2 separate regions of the Homo sapiens genome follow, and region 1 is linked to region 2. The links are contacts of gene promoters, found by promoter capture Hi-C in blood cells and fetal thymus (Javierre and others, 2016). All regions are on one chromosome and are shown on one strand. Each heading gives the region's core, a stretch centred on a gene start or on the middle of the fragment in contact. The rest is flanking DNA. Distances are from core to core; before and after follow the strand shown.

Region 1 (5,216 bases), core at 193-2,692, 250 kb before region 2:
AGATTAATAAAGCTGTCAATTTTCATTGTTTTCAAATCACCTTTAATATCAGTTGAGTTTAAAGCTTAGGGGAAGGAACACACAGGCAGCACCCATTGGCAATATGTTAGAACATTCTCTACCTAAAAATACAGATAGGTGTTTACAAGTTTTCTTCATTTCGCTGTGACATTCCTCAGCTCTGATGTGCATTTGGCTGCTTTCCTGAATTCACACATCTCTCTGCTCATGTGCTTGTGCATTTTGCAGAAGTGTCACTACCCAAGCTTTGCAAAATAACGAACTCAATCTTCTAAGTGACTTTGCTGAGGCTATGTCTTTATTATGCCCTCCAAAACTTGAGAGTCAAAAATAAAAATTAGAAAAATGAAGCAACTAGTAATGTTTGCTTTTGACTGAAGTCACTGAGTCCAGCTGTATTTTTTCCCACTGAAAAATAGATGAAGACATCCTAACTGGGTTGAGTTTTATTTGGGATTTTTTTCCCCTCTCCTTGGCCCGTAGGCTAGCTGATTCACTGATGCACAGTGAAAATGCCAAGAATATGCAAACCTCTCTGGGGTAGAAATTTGTAACAGAAAGGGAATTTCTGGCGGTGTAAAAGCAGGGCTGGAATAATCTCAGACTGTACCCCCAGGCCAGTTTTCGTGATACAGTTAAAAACTGGTTGGGCCGCCGGCAGAATCAACTGTTTAAACATCTTGCTGATTGTTTATGGTAGTTGCCCAATAGATGCTTAAAAACATTGGTTTTCATGGACTTCTGGTGGAAACCTCTTATACCCAGCTGATCCTAGGTTATTATTCATATATTTGCTCAGTAGCCAGATCCAAGAATTCATCTGGAAACTCTCAAAGGAGAGAGAAGAGAAAGAGTCTATGATTTTTCAATTCTAGAATCACCATGTCTGAGAAATTTTTCTTGCTCACTCTTTAATGCTCCCCAGAAGGCCCTCTGCTTAATAATCTCACCAGTTTCTTTATATGTCATATATTTCCATTGTCTACTCTAGCCTGCAGTTTAAAATGGGGACATTTTGAAAGGAATGTGCTGCTTTTTGCCCTTTATCCCACTTGCTCTTGCTGAAGTTCAACCTTGAAATGCCTCATCCCATTAGCTATATGCTTCCGGGCATTTCCAGAAGGCATCTCACATATGCTTGAAACAGGTCAGTCAGCTCTCAGGTGACAACTACGAGATACAACAACAACTTTGGTTCAGGATTAGGAAGCCTGATTATGCCACAGATCTGAACCTTGTTGAGCAATCCAAAACTCCTTCCAGTGAAGCAGATATTTTGATCTCCTCTCCAAAGCTTGTGTTGATCTCTCCATTGGTTTCAAAACTGGAGTGGAAGAAAGAAGCATGATTAATCCTAACTATCTCGGCTCTCCAATCTCAACAGCTATGTACTATGATGTTCATAAAGAAACTAAGATTCAGAGAGGTTAAGCAACATGCAAAAATCATCCATTAGTAAGCGACAGCCCCAGAATTCAAATCCACGCTTTCTAAGTCTTAATCCTGTGCTTGTTTCACGGCTCCTGTAACATTAGATAAGAAGCTTACCCTTGCTCTGCAAGGGTTCATATAAAGATTAGGATACTTCTGCCTATAAAACATGAGATAAAAATATAATGGCCTCATAGACTGAAACGATACACAATTCTAAATAAAAATCAATTCTTTATTTTGATATTCAAAGTCACCTACTCTTTATGACCACTACCCTCATTGCAAATGCCCCTATTCTGATGTGCTTTTCCATTAAATAAGATTTACACCATCCTTCTTTGGAGCCTTTGCTCATGCAGACCTTCTCACATTCCCTCTATTTTATTTCTCATTCATCCAATTCTCATTCATGCTTCAGAACCTTGCCTCTAACACCTTTCACCAATTAGCTCAGGTTTTCCTCTGACAGCTATTGTTGTAAACCTCTCAATTTGCATTTATGCATTCTTCATGTTATTTGGGAATTTTGCAAGTGGATATACAATTTTCACATGTCTGGATAGTAATCTCTTGAGATTATGAGTAGTCTTCACTATATATGTAGATATTAAGTGAGCTTATTTATATCAGATATAGACCATACAATCTCATCACTTATAGATGCTTTTTCACTGTATTGATAGATTAATGCTCCCCTTTAAACATACCTCTAAACTACTCAAACTCTATAAATGTATCTCCATATATCCCTGCAATTCTCTTTTTGAAACTAGAACAAATTAAGGGAATTGTTTCTAAAAATTTGAGCTTGAGGTAGAAAAGAGGAAGATGAAAAAATAATAAGTAACATTTTAAACTTTTTCTTACTCTGTTCTATATTCAGAAAATGTTTTAATGATACAATTTTGACATCAGTAGCAAGACAAATTTCCTTTCTTTTAATCACCAAGTCAAAGAATATTTCCATTGAGCTGGTTTCAATGAACAGAGAACTCATATATTTCCACTGACTAACAAAGGAATATTGACATCAAACATATATATTTAATTATGGATGAATATCAATACATGAGCATGGAGTCCTTAGGAAAATTACAAATGCCGAAGTACTTTGTAGAGTATTGCATAACTGATTTTATCAGGCAGAATAGCGGATGGATCTTATGCTCTAAATATTTAAATTTTGGGGACAACAAGTTTTCTTTCATGGTCATCATTTTTAGAAATCTTTCTATAACTTAGGGAAGTGTTATAAATAATACAGAGTGGGAATATCCTAGGGAGAAATGAGAATTTCTGATTCTAAGAGGGACAGTAAATAATTTCATCTCATGTACCAAATCTGAGTGGTTGGCAGTGGCTGTCGAGACTTTAGAGTGCTATGTTGATGAGGATTCTGGGTCTGGGGCCAGGCTCTGTCATGTCATGAGTGATTAGTAATGTTTGCAATAAATGCAGAATTGTAAGGGAAAGCACATATCATATTTTGCCACTGCTGCTGTATTGCTGAGATTCTGCCATTTTTTTGTTCTTCTTTGGTGTCCAGGAAGGGCTTAGACCCATGAATGTTAACATTATAATGCCATATGGGGACATACAGTAAAAACACATGAAAACCTCCATGTTCGGGGTATGCCTATCCTGGGATATGAATGGTAGTAGATCCTAGGCAGTGTTGTGTGAGTAACCAGATTGCCAAAGTGATGGGGCGAGGGATGGGGAGAAGGCATTTGCTGGTTTCCATGCTGTAAAGACTTTTGCCCTGGCTGATTCCAAGCCACCAATGTGAGGTCATTAAACTCAGAGCTGGAAAGACATGTGTATAGCCCAGGCCAGTATGAGGAGGCTACAGCCAACCAGTAATTATAAGTGAACTTCTAGGGTTCAGGGTGCTGAGTAAACCCTGGGCCATAGAATGGAGGATGGACATAGGGATCCAAGGAAGGACCAGAAGGCCATAGACAGATCAGCTGTGTGCAGCTGGGGAACAGTATCAGCTATAAATCAGAGCTCAGGCCAACATTTCAAAGTTATAACAACATAAGAATCAGTTTCAATGCCACCCTCCAAAAACATACATTTTACCTTATCTACCAATATAATGCATCTTCCAGGTCCATATGCTGAGACAGCATAGTATATCAGTAATGAGCATGTTTTTTGTTTTTGTTTTGTTTTCTTTTTTGAGAGGGAGTTTCGCTTTTGTTGCCCAGGCTGGAGTGCAATGGTATGATCTCAGCTCACCGCAACCTCCACCTCCCGGATTCAAGTGATTCTCCTGCCTCAGCCTCCCGAGTAGCTGGGATTACAGGCATGCGCCAACACGCCCAGCTAACTTTGTATTTTTAGTAGAGACAGGGTTTCTCCATGTTGGTCAGGCTGGTCTCAAACTCCCAACCTCAGGTATCTGCCCGCCTCAGCCTCCCAAAGTGCTGGGATTACAGGCATGAGCCACCACGCCCGGTCCTAAGTGCATGGTTTTTAGAGCCAGACACCATGGGTTTGAGTTCTAGCTCCACCATGTATTAAATATTAGCTCCGAAACCTTGAGAAAATTACTTAACCTCTCTGTGCCTCAGTTTTCTCATCTATTAAAATAGGGATATTAATAGTACCATCGGGTCATTTAAAATTAAATGACTTAGTAACTGTAAACCGCATAGAACAACATGTGCATTTACTGCATGGAGACTGATGCGTAAGTGCATAATAAAGGTACATAAAATGTAGATTTGCAACTTTTATCAAAATATCATTTTCAGTATATAATTTGCCCTTGAACTTAGGACAGAGGCACAGGATAGCTATGATAAAAATGCTCACTAGTGTAACTGATTAACTCTACATTTATAAGCATAACAATTTCACTTGTCTTTCTATATCATCCCATTTATCTTGGGAAGATAAGTAGGAATAACAATTATAATAGCAAATATACACCATTTTTAAAGTTCCATTTTATAGTAATTTAGATTTTTTATGGCAAATTTAGTAACAAGGCCAAAATTGAGATGTTTTTATTCTTACAGATTTCATTTTACATTGAAAAGTGGCACTGTTTTTCTTATGTTGAAGAGTTTACTGAAGAAACTTCATATCAGAGATTTAGTGTTTTAATCTATAACAGATTGTGCATATAATAAAGGACATTTTTTCCTATTGGAAATCTAAAAAATATGTCAATTTCTCAAACATAAATTCGTAAAATAAAAATTCTGGCAGTGGTCAAGCTCATTATACCACAATGATCCTGTTTTCCTCAGCAATAGATTTAACCTTCTAACTTTGTAAATTTCACATTTAGCCAAGTTTTTAGCTAAAACAAGTTGAAATACAGCAGAAAGAACCTTTCCTGCCAGTTCTATTCAGTAGCATGTTAATCAGATTGCAGTAATAAGTATGAAACAATGCATGCAATTAGCAGTGGTTAATTTGAAACTACTTCATGTCAGTTTCTTTCAGAGCAATACGTTAGTAGAGTAATTATTTATTACCCTGAGGACATGATCAATGATATCCTTCCATAATAACGTCTGCAAAAAGAGTAGGCATCTTCATTTGCATAAAAAGGAAGCTATAGAAACTGTTTTTTTTTCAGCTAAATAAAAGCAGAAAACTGTTTCTAAGCTCTTTCCAACCATTTCGTTAGTAGTAATAGATAAGCAAATCATTTGTTACACTTCAATATTTTTATGGTAACATAATGGTGAGGGGAAAAAAACAGCATTAATGATTTAAATCCACAAAGACTATCTTTACTG
Region 2 (4,838 bases), core at 601-3,100:
TAGTGGCTATTCAAGCTATGTTTCACAGATCACATGGCTCTAGGTTACTCTAGCTATTAAAGGAGTGCGTACCCTCATTGGAAAGAAAGCTGCACACATATTCTAGATGAGTTAAGAGGGTATCCATGACCTGGCTAATTACAACATAATTCATTTTGGTACTTGAGTTCTGAGGTCTGCTAGGAAACTGGGAAGAAAGACTGTACGAGACACACAGATAATTCCATTTGTGCAAGTAGTGCTAATAAAATGTGACTTCCTTGCACTATTAAATACCCCAAATCTTGCTTTATCGAGATGGCATATGATTATTTACTTATTCTTCTTCTTGTTCTGTCACCCAGGCTGGGGTGCAGTCATGCAATCATAGTTCACTACAGCCTTAAACTCCTGGCCTCAAGTGATCCTCCTGCCTCAGCCTCCCAAGTAGCTGAGACTACAGGCATGAATAACCACACCCAGCTAAGATGACATTAAAATTTTTAAATGCATCTACAAATAAAACTTAGGATTTATGACAAAGGTAACAATGCAGTAATATGAAGAAAGGATAATAATCTTTTTTCACAAAATGGTGTAAATGGTGCTATATGAATTGTACATCCACACAGGAAAAGAATATTGGGTCCACTGATACCTTACAGCATACACAAAACTAAATTTCAGTCAATTGCAGATCTAAATATAAAATGTAAAACTAACAATCTTAGAAGAAAATATAAAAGAATGCCTTCAGTCACCATGGAGTATGCAACGATTTATTAAACAGAACACAAAAAGCATTAACCACCAAATTTTAAAACTGGAAAAATTGAACTATATTAAAATTCATGCTTGGTGTCAAAAATCACCATTAAGAAAGGGAAATATCAATCAATAGACAAGAATGATATTCATTACAAATATATCTGACAAAGGACTTATACCCAGAATATATTTTTGATAAAACTCAAAAATTAATGTGAAAAAGACACACAAGTAGAAAAATGAGCAAAAAAATCTGAGCAGCCATTTACAAAAGAGAACACAGTATGGCTAATAAGCATATAAAGTGCTCAACTTTACTACTCATCAGTGCAATGCAAATACAACCACAGTGTAATACTTCTACCCCTACAAAAGAATGGCTAAAATAAAAACAATGGGGAAATAGCAAATGCTGTTGAGAAGGTGGAGCAACCACTCTGAAAAAGTGGCAGTATTTATAAAAGTTGAACATCATTATATTCAATGACCCAATAATTCTAATCCTAGATAAATATGCATTTGTTCCAACTAAAGACAAGTCTAGAATGTTCAGCTACCCTAGGGGTACTATTCCCAAACTGAAAATGACAAAATGGCCAGTAACAGTAGAATTGATAAAAAAAATTGTGACATATTTAGGCAATAGAATATCAAACAAGGAAGAATATAAAGAACCCTCAGCTATACACGAGGTGGCTGAAACTTACAAAGAGTGACTGAAAAAACCTGACACAAAAATAATGCATGCACTATGATTCCATTTATATAAAGTCTGTCGGAAGTCTAGGTAATCGTTATTCTTGGGATGTTGGAAGCAGGTACTGGAAGGGGACAGGAGGGGGGGTTCTGGGATACAATGTTCTTTATTTTCTCTAAGTTCCTGTTATATGGGTTTCTCCAGTTTGTGAAAATTTATTCAGATGTACCCAAATCAAAAAGTTAAAACTGAAACAAAAATAATAATTGCAATGGATCGCGTTATTTAAAACAAAGGCGACCACAATGAACTCCTCTCTCCCCACCCCCTAACCCCTGCGCACGCACACGCACAATGAAGCGAAACCTCATTGGCTGGGATCAGTGACGCACTTCTGAAAGCCGCAGTTTGGCACCATCTTTTCCATCTCCTGCTCCTTCCGCCTTCCCGCCATCCGCCCTCCACACGATTCAGCCCGGTGGTGTTAGCCCCCTGGACTCGATTCCTGAGGCAAACAGTGCCCCTTAAGGTCGGCGACAGCCTCTTCTGGGTTCACTGCAGTCCAACCGGTTCCCTACCCTCTGCCATTATGAACATCCGCAACGCTCAGCCAGACGACCTGATGAATATGCAACACTGCAACCTCCTTTGCCTTCCTGAGAACTACCAGATGAAATACTATTTATATCATGGCCTTTCCTGGCCCCAGCTTTCTTACATCGCTGAGGATGAGGACGGGAAGATTGTGGGCTATGTTCTGGCCAAAATGGAGGAGGAACCAGATGATGTCCCGCATGGCCATATCACCTCACTGGCCGTGAAGCGTTCACACCGGCGCCTCGGCCTGGCCCAGAAGCTGATGGACCAGGCCTCCAGGGCCATGATAGAGAACTTTAACGCCAAATACGTGTCTCTGCACGTCAGGAAGAGTAACCGGCCAGCCTTGCACCTTTATTCTAACACCCTCAACTTTCAGATTAGTGAGGTGGAACCTAAATACTATGCAGATGGGGAAGATGCTTATGCTATGAAGCGGGATCTCTCGCAGATGGCAGATGAGCTGAGACGACAAATGGACCTGAAGAAGGGCGGGTATGTGGTCCTGGGCTCCAGGGAGAACCAGGAGACCCAGGGCAGCACACTTTCTGATTCTGAAGAGGCCTGTCAGCAAAAGAACCCGGCTACCGAAGAAAGTGGCAGTGACAGCAAAGAACCTAAGGAGTCTGTGGAGAGCACCAACGTCCAGGACAGCTCAGAAAGCTCGGATTCCACCTCCTAGAGCATGCTTAAGGTATTCTGTCTTCCCTGACCCAGTACCCCCTTCTCCTAAATCCCTGCATCCTGCCTTGGCCTGCCCAATTCCATCCTGTCTTACCCCATTCTGGCCCTGCGAGATTTTACGGTAAAAACCACCTGGTGACCTTAGGGAGAAGTTAGAGTGAGTTGAGGGAGACTCATTACACGCTATTGGAAGTTAAATAGGATACCAGCTCATGCTGAAAGTAGATTAATTTCAATGAAGAAACAAGCATTTATCCTGCTTTTTGGGCATGAGTTGTATTTCAGGGTAACCACGTAGTTGATGAAAGGCATTTTTTTCTTTATGGAATTCCAGTTAGTAATAATGATAGAAATATAAAATCATCATTTTCCAACTCTTGATGAAATAATGGACCCAGCCAAGAGTCATCAATGGCTAATAGCATTAGGTAAAAGTTGGAGCACTTTGTAATGATGGATCAGACTGACAACACTTGAAGTCAGTGTAGTCAGTCTTCACTAAACGTGGAGACAAATATGTGTCTCCTTATGCAACAGGAAGTGCACAGTACTACCTATGAAATATTCTTTCCAAAAGAAAATTATGAGATCTGACTACCATTTTACAGAAAATAGAGGGACTTGTTAAACTATACCATGATGCAAACAGCCAAATCCAGAATGAGAGGTTTTTACAAAACAAATGACCTGGTTTCTTCAACAAATAAATGGCACACACACAAAAAAAGATGAAGCATTTTCTGTTAAACTTTACAGATACATTAAACTCAACTGCTATGGACATTGTTTGGATACTGATTCAAACAAACCATGTATAAGACATTTTTGAGATAATCAGGCAAAATTTGAACGGGGACTATATTAAGGAATTACTAATAATTTTATTAGAGGAGCTAAATGGTATTGTATTATGTTTAGAAAGTCCTTATCTGTTAAAGATACATACAGAAATAATTATAGCTGAAATAATAGGATGCCTAGGATTTCCTTTAAAATAATCCAGCAAAAAAAGAAGAAAAAGATTGAAAGAGGGAAAATGAAATAAGAATGGCAATGATAATTGTTGGGTTGGGAAATGGGTACTTAGGGGGTTCCTTATGCCATTTACTCTTTCGAATGTGTGAAAATTAGCATGAAAAGTTAAAGAGCCAAAACAATTACTGTACTTTTTTTTTTTTTTTTTGAGACAGAGTCTCGTTCTGTCGCCCAGGCTGGAGTGCAGTGGCGCGATCTCGGCTCACTGCAACCTCCACGTCCTGGGTTCAAGCTATTCTCCTGCCTCAGCCTCCCAAGTAACTGGGACTACAGGCGCCCGCCACCTCGCCTGGCTAATTTTTGTATTTTTGTATCTTTTTTTCTTTTTTTGAGATGGAGTCTAGCTCTGTCGCCGAGGCTGGAGTGCCGTGGCACTGTCTTGGCTCACTGCAAGCTCCGCCTCCCGGGTTCACGCCATTCCGCTGCCTCAGCCTCCCGAGTAGCTGGGACTACAGGCGCCTGCCACCACGCCTGGCTAATTTTTTTGTATTTTTAGTAGAGACGGGGTTTCACTGTGTTAGCCAGGATGGTCTTGATCTCCTGACCTCGTGATGCGTCCGCCTCGGCCTCCCAAAGTGCTGGGGTTACAGGCATGAGCCACCGTGCCCGGCCTAATTTTTGTATTTTTAGTAGAGACAGAGTTTCAGCATATTGGCCAGGCTGGTCTCGAACTCCTGACCTTGTGATCTGCCTGCCTCAGCCCCCCAAAGTGCTGCGATTACAGGCGTGAGCCACCGCGCCCAGCTCTTGTACTTCTTAATACACACTTATGCTAATACTAAGAAACCACTGAAACTAAGTTTTAAAGGATTGGTATGTTAGAAACAACTTAATTGTAATAATATACCACAGTATTTCTTCCATCAAAGGACTTTGTATCGCCTTAGGAATTTCAAGGGTCGGTGAGCTACTGGCAGTTTACAGGCTTTAACATCTTAATCTAGTCACCTTACCCTTACATGTATGAAAGGCAGCAACTTCTCATGGCAAAGTCTAGTCATAAATAGTGTATTCTGTATATAATTTCAGTAAGTGCTATTTGATTAGTCTACTCATTCATAAAAATATTTGTCAGGCA

The links. The method cuts DNA at HindIII sites, captures the fragments that hold promoters and counts their contacts. A CHiCAGO score of 5 or more calls a contact.
Region 1: a fragment that was not itself captured here is called in contact with the fragment with the promoter of NAA11 in region 2 in 1 of 17 cell types (megakaryocytes); the score reaches 6.3 in megakaryocytes.

What each region holds. Positions count from the first base shown.
Region 1 is chr4:79,571,270-79,576,485 of GRCh38, reverse strand. LINC00989 (long intergenic non-protein coding RNA 989) reads right to left here. Exons shown (of 4, transcript NR_038826.1): 4 at 26-1,345. All of the region lies in intron 1 of LOC107986294 (a long non-coding RNA gene), which reads right to left. Among named protein-coding and RNA genes, the nearest start is that of LINC00989, 81 kb to the right of the region's middle. The HindIII fragment of the contact is 249 bases long and covers 1,318-1,566 here.
Region 2 is chr4:79,323,073-79,327,910 of GRCh38, reverse strand. It overlaps NAA11 (N-alpha-acetyltransferase 11, NatA catalytic subunit), which reads left to right and starts at 1,850. Exons shown (of 2, transcript NM_032693.3): 1 at 1,850-2,735. The coding sequence starts at 2,034. The coding sequence ends at 2,723. The HindIII fragment of the contact is 18,990 bases long and covers 1-4,838 here.